Linked DNA regions of Homo sapiens: region 1 is linked to region 2. The links are contacts of gene promoters, found by promoter capture Hi-C in human tissues and cell types (Jung and others, 2019). All regions are on one chromosome and are shown on one strand. The core of a region is centred on a gene start or on the middle of the fragment in contact, and the rest is flanking DNA. Distances in the headings are between cores, read along the strand shown. Region 1 has its middle 32 kb from the start of PFKP-DT. Region 2 holds the start of IDI1 (isopentenyl-diphosphate delta isomerase 1).

The links. Contacts are between HindIII fragments. The study calls those that stand out against the background at their distance.
Region 1: a contact is called between a fragment that was not itself captured here and the fragment with the promoter of IDI1 in region 2, in 1 of the 25 tissues and cell types used here (mesenchymal stem cells).

What each region holds. Positions count from the first base shown.
Region 1 is chr10:3,032,749-3,036,220 of GRCh38, reverse strand. No RefSeq gene overlaps it. Among named protein-coding and RNA genes, the nearest start is that of PFKP-DT, 32 kb to the left of the region's middle. The HindIII fragment of the contact is 5,516 bases long and covers 1-3,472 here.
Region 2 is chr10:1,047,634-1,050,889 of GRCh38, reverse strand. It overlaps IDI1 (isopentenyl-diphosphate delta isomerase 1), which reads left to right and starts at 1,771. Exons shown (of 5, transcript NM_004508.4): 1 at 1,771-2,026. The coding sequence starts at 1,887. RefSeq lists enhancers at 1,123-1,262, 934-1,463, 1,723-1,772, 1,464-1,993, 1,994-2,524 and silencers at 1,863-2,082, 2,093-2,182. The HindIII fragment of the contact is 3,155 bases long and covers 572-3,256 here.

The DNA of each region.
Region 1 (3,472 bases), core at 588-3,087, 2.0 Mb before region 2:
GGGCTGGCAGGGGAGTTACACAGCTCAGCATTCATCCCTGGATATGCAGACCATACCTTGAATAAGTTTATAAGCAACAATTAAATGTTGAAATAAATATCTTGAAAGGAGAAGCAGATATTTCAGGGTGGACGAGGTCTGAGAATTGAGTGGGGTTTAGACAAAAATGTCATCAGCAGAGAGCATTCCTGGCTGATCCAAAGAGAAAGTTCTCACTGATCTTTTTCTGAGAGAAACAGAGTGAATGGGATCAGAATCTACTTAATATCTTTATAGCTCATATTCTATTGACTACTAGGAAACAATTGTTCCAGTATAGTTGTTGTTTTCATGAAGCTTGACTTAAATGAATTGCTTTGAAAATACTGGGTTGACATTATCTAGCAGTGAAGGATGTGGTGTCAAGGAATATAAAACATCAGGTTAAAAACTACCTTAAGAAATTGGTCTTTAAGATTCCTGACTAAGGGTGTTGTGGTACATGAGGTGATATGGTTTGGCTCTGTGTCCCCACCCAAATCTCACCTGGAATTGCAATAATCCCCATGTGTCATGGGAGGGACCTGGTGGGAGGTAATTGAAAAATGGGGGAGGGTTCTTTCCCGTGCTGTTCTCGTGACAGTAAGTCTCACGAGATCTGATGGTTTTATAAAGGGGACGTCCCCCCCACATGCTCTCTTGCCTGCCGCCACATAAGACATGACTTTGCTCCTCATTCAGCTTCCGCCATGATTCTGAGGCCTCCCCAGCGACGTGAAACTGTAAGTCCATTTAACCTCTTTGCTTTATACATTACCCAGTCTTGGGTCTGTCTTTGTTAGCAGTGTGAGAGCAGACGAATACATAAGGATGCTGCTTTATTTTTCACAACCATCGTTACTCAGTCCTAAGTGTTTCTCTTCATCGAATGAAGACAACGTTTGCTTTGGAGAGGGAATGAATTAATGAAGACTCCGAGCTCTTGGAATGAGCTCCGTGAGATGATGCTGAATCCTGATGAATATCTTTTGGTGCTGGGAGTTCTCTCTGGATATGAGGTCCCTATGTTTATAGATAAATTAGGCCCATAAATACTGAGGTGGAAGGAAAGGAAAAGTCCCCCTACAGATGTGTAAATGAATGACTTGACTCAAACTTTTTTTTAAAATTTTTTTTTAAGAAAAGACGCTCCAAGACATAGGAGCAATCAATGTTACTGTTAAAGGAGGGGGCAGGCTTCAATGTTATCGTGAAGGACACTGGAATGTTGCTGTTTATTAATTTTGGGTTGTTTTACTTTTGTAGAAGGGGAAGTTGAGATAGTTGGCATGCAAAGCACATGTTGTCAGCTTTAGCTATTTTAATCGCAGTGAGAAATGGAATTAACTGCTGAACCAAAACCACTGGAGAATAATTAGGGTCACTATTTTTCCTGAATCATGGATTTCCTAATCTTCAGAAGACTCGGGCATTTTGACTCATTTGACTACTTCAGTTTCCTCAAATTTTCTTATTAAAACTATTTAAAATAATATAGCAATAAAGAGGAACTTCCAACAATACCTCTTCACTGTATCTCAGCGTCTACTTTGTTGAACAAGAATACCATGAATGTCTGACCTTTACATCGTTGAAACTTTTTTCTAAAAATCAGTCATGCTTGATCCAGAAGATAATTTATATCCTTAAAGTCTCCTTTCACAAGAGTTCTGTGGGTGCACTGAGGAACACAAGGCTTTATCTATTATAGAAGGTAAAAGAATGTCCACGAACAACCTTTTGTTCTCCCAAGTTGGTCACCTTTACTAATTACATCCAGCAAGTCCTGGGCAGATCCTAATATGACCTAACTTAGAATCCTATTGGTCAGTCTGGGGATCTTCTCCTAAAGAAGTTTGGTACTGGCAAATACTAGGTCTCAGTAACATGATCCCAATGTGAGCATTGTCTCTTGTACTGACATTTCTATTTTACTGATTTTTTTTTTGTAAGTGTTGTGCTGTGTGCCAGGCACCACGCCAAGCCCTTTAGCATTTCTAATTTACGTAATCATCCTAATAACCTCATGAGGAAAGTGCCATAGTGTTCCCACTCACTGGACAAGGACACTGAGAGAGACGCCATCTGCCTATTTGTCCATGGCACCAGGGCTGTGCCTCCCTGGGCTCGTGGGCCATGGGCTGCAGCACAGCCTCTGCTGTTATTCTTAAGGACCTCTTGATATGCAGTCAGTTTTCTATTTCTTTCTTTTTTTTTTTTTGGTTTGTTTGTTTTTGAGACGGAGTCTCACTCTGTCACCCAGGCTGGAGTGTAGTGACATGATCATGGCTCACTGCAACCTCCACCTCCTGGGTTCAAGCGATTCTCCTGTCTCAGCCTCCCGGGTAGCTGGAACTACAGGCACACACCACCACACCTGGCTAATTTTTGCATTTTTAATAGAGACGGGGTTTCAGCATGTTGGCCAGGCTGGTCTCGAACTCCTGACCTCAAGTGATGCGCCTGCCTCGGCCTCCCAGAGTGCCAGGATTACAGGTGTGAGCCACCTGCCTGATCTGGTTTTATATTTCTAAATGTAATAGAACGTAATTTCTGGATAAAGAGTTTGGGCTGTTGAGCCAGATTTGGGTTTGAATTGAGCTCAGCTGCTTATTAGCTGGGCGAAGTTCAGAAACATGGTCACTTTCCTTTGAGTCTTTGTCTTATCTGTGACATAAAAATAAGTCAACCTGTAGGGATAATGACATAATTAGAAAAAAATACACCAAACACTACAGATGGCACCTGACTCTTAGTAGCACTTGGTAGGACCTATTTAATAATGATCGATTAAATATTAATAATAAGGCAAACAGGGATAGAAAAAATGTGGCTACAAACAAGAGACCTGGAAATCACCACCCCATCCACAAACAATTGGGTCAATAATTGAATGCTGTTTTGTTTTCCAATCCTACCAGCTTCAATAAATATAGACTGCCGTATCTCTATGCATCAGACATGTCCATCCTTTGGTTGAGCGAGACACAGGGTGAGTGAGTCTTACTGCATTTACTTTTCCCCCCTGTAACATGTAATCGGTCTCTTGTTTTCTCGAATTGATCAGTTTCAGAATGGCTTCCAAGATATTCATGGAATAACAAACTATTTATTGGTGGCAGAAATATCGTATCCTCAGCCTTCAATGGGCTCAAAGGAAAAAACACCTGCTCCTTAAGTCTCCATGGGCTCAGCTCTTGATCACCGGCTTCTTGAACAACAGTCCCATCTGTGTGGCGGTCCTGATGTTGTATTTTATATTTTATTAAAATACACAGGTGATACGCACTCGCAGGTGCATACATGTCCTATCCTGGTCTGTGATTTTTCTGTCCAAGATGGTGGCTGTTGTACCCTTGATTTTCTGAAGTCACCAGCACACAGCCTCAGTGCCAGTGGTCATCAGCCGTGTTATCAGCTTTCAGGTATGAATTGCCATCACTTTATTGTTTTC
Region 2 (3,256 bases), core at 522-3,021:
TCATTTCTTTGTAACATTGATGAGAAAAAGACTCCCAGCCAGGGGCACTGTCTTTGTGGTGTTTACGTGTTCTCGCCACACCTGCATAGGTTTTCTCTGGGTGCTGCAGTTCTTGCCACATCCCAGAGGTGTGCACGTGAGGTGAACTGGTGTGTCTTCACTGTCCCAGTCTGAGTGTGGGTGTGTGAGTGGCCCTGTGATGGAATGGCGTCCTGTCCAGGGCTGGTTCCCTCTTTGTGCCCTGAGCTACTGAAACAGGCTTCAGCTACACATGACCCAGAACTGGAATAATTAAGTAATAATTATCTTTTTATTCATCTTTCTTAAATGTATGTATAGCTCACATTTATTTCAATGTTTAATATTAGAATACTTTGGCCTTTAGAAGCTTAGTGATTTTTTTTTTCCTTGGCCAGAAGTATGCTTTAGGAACTTAATCCTTATTTTTTAGCCTCTGGTAAAATTGGTTTTGCTATACGTTGTTTCACTTAAAAGTCCTGATTCCCAAGAACGCACTGACAGCAGTGAGGACTTGCTGCGCATGCGGGAGGCCAGATTTTCTTATCTGTGTGAAGCCAGACATGAAAGAGATCTGTCAACACATAAAACAAAATCAAAGTCTGTTTTTTGTCTGGAAAAGATTTTTAATAAAAATATAACTTATGTTAGTGTCGTGTGTTTTTTAAGTGAATATTTTAATATGTTTAATTTCTATGTTAGTAAATAGCAGTAGTAAACAACAGTGAGCAAAAGCTTTTAGGTGTCCTCAGTACATTTTAAGAGAGTGCAAGCGTCCTGTGACCAAGAAGTTTGAGAACTGGTGCCCACCAGGTTCATCTCACAAGTTCAGTATTTTAAATTCCACACAAAAGGTAGAGGAAATAGCTGAATTCGCTTCAGCTGCGCATACATTTCACGATTATTTAAAAGTTTAGAGGGCTAGGCGCGGTGGCTCACACCCGGAATCTCAGCACTTCGGTAAGCTGAGCCAGGTGGATCACTTGAGGTCAGGAGTTCCAGACCAGCCTGACCAACATGCGGAAACCCGTCTCTACTAAAAATACGAAATAAGCCGGGCGTGGTGGCGCATGCCTGTAATTCCAGCTACTTGGGAGGCTGAGACGGGACAATTGCCTGAACCCGGGCGGCGGAGGTTGCTGTGAGCGGAGACTGCACCATTGCACTCAAGCCTGGGCAACAAGAATGAAACTGTCTCAAAAAAAAAAAATTTAGAACGTAGTCATGTACCTCGAAAGCGAACACTCCCAACATAGCGTGGAACACCCCACACCCCCGGCGACTTTGCTCCGCCTTGGTCCCGGTCGCAGACACCGCAGAAAGGCCATCGTTCTAGACATACGAGAACTCCCCGTGCAGCCAAACGCTGTAGTCCCAGCGGCGGAACTCGGGGGGGGGGAGGGGGGGGAGTGCCCAACCAGCCAGTCAGCAGTGACGTCCCGCCTTTCCTCCGTTTCCATTGGTCCAGCCATGCGGAGGTCGCTCCCATGGGACGCCGAGCTTCCGGCTGCAGGGCTTGGCGCCCGGGCGCTTTCGGATTGGGAGGGCTTCCTCCATGGAACGCGAGCCTCGAGACGTCTGACGTTAGGCACCGTTCGCAGCGCCTCGGGCTCGCACGGCAGGATCGAAAGCGTGATTGGCTGGCGGCGTCTGTGGTCTCGGGCACCGCCCAGTCGCGGGACGCTGCCTCTGCGGAACTGGGGGTGGGGCGTGTTGACCCCCTTAAAGGCGCCAGAGCCCGCGGTCACGGCTCAGGTTCCCGGTGCTTCGCGCGTCTGCCGTTGTCACAGGCCAGGGAGGTGGCACCACCAGGCGAAGCTTGGCGAGATTGTGTCGTCAAGCGCGTACGGGCGCCAATTGGCCGGGCGATGTGGCGTGGACTGGCGCTGGCGCGAGCGATTGGCTGCGCGGCCCGGGGGCGGGGCCAGTGGGCGGTGCGCGCCGCAGACTGTGCTCAAAGCGGGCGCCATCCGGGACCGGCGGTTGTCTGTGGCCGGAGGCTGATCAGGTACTGTGGACGGGCGGCGGAGTTCGGGAGACAGGGGCAGGGCGGCATCGGGGAGCTGCGGGACGGGGCGGGGAGGAGGCCCGAGGTCTGAGCCACCCGTGAGGTCTCGGCGCGGAGGCCTGGACAGCTGGGGGTGGCGGCGTTGGTCTCCCGAACTGGAGGGAGGCCGGGCCTTCCCGGGCTGTGGTGGGCGCCCGCGCCCCGTGGAAGGCGGAGGCGTGAGTCGGGGCGTCAGAGACGTTGCCATTCTTTGTCAGCGGAAAAGATCGTCGTCTGCGCACAGTCACCTGAGGTTTAGGAACTCGTGGAACTGGAAACCGAGTCGCAGGAGACTAAGAGTTGCGAGTCTCCCCTTAGAGAATTCAGAAACAAGCGTAGACAGCATCGTCAGAAACACGAGCGTGACGACACCGGCCTCCCCGTGCCGAGTCCACGCGTGTGACGCGGGTGCATACACCTGCGTCCGTGCAAGAGGGTGACAGCAACACACTCAAGGCGCTTCTCCTGGGAATGGAGCAGGAGAAGAGATGGGGAGCATCGCATAGATGGAACTAGACCTTTTTCTTGGGTTGGATGATGTGTTCCCGCGTCTACTACATGGTATTCTTTAAACGCATAAATAGACGTATTCATTTTATCTTGTGATTATGCAGCTTAGCTTTAAAATCTGAATTCTGAAAATCCTGAAAGAGCAATTGTCATTACAGCTGGGCGGTGGTGCACGCCTTTAATCCCAGCACTTTGGGAGGCGGAGTCGAAGGCTGCAGTGAGCCGAGATCGCGCCACTGCACTCCAGCTTGGGCGACAGACATAGCAAGACCCAGCCCCATCCCCCCGGAAAAAAAGTCATGTCAAAAAGTCTAGTAATTATGTAGTAACGAAACCTATCTTAGTGATCACCTAATATACAGTTGGCCTACTGTATCCTTGGGGTCCATATCCATGGATTTAACCAACTGCACATTATAAAATATTTGGAAAAAAATTTCATCTGTACTGAACATATACAGACTTATTCTGTAAACAATACAGCACAACTATTTATGTAGGATTTACATGTTTTAGATACTATAAGAGATCATCTACAGATGATAATTTAACGTTCGGCCCGCATCACTTAACAGGGATACTTTGGAGAAGTTCATTGTTAGGTACTTTCATCATTGTGGAAGCAGAGTGCGCTGACGCAGACCTAGACAGTGGAGCAGCTGGGCTGTGTGGTGTAGACAG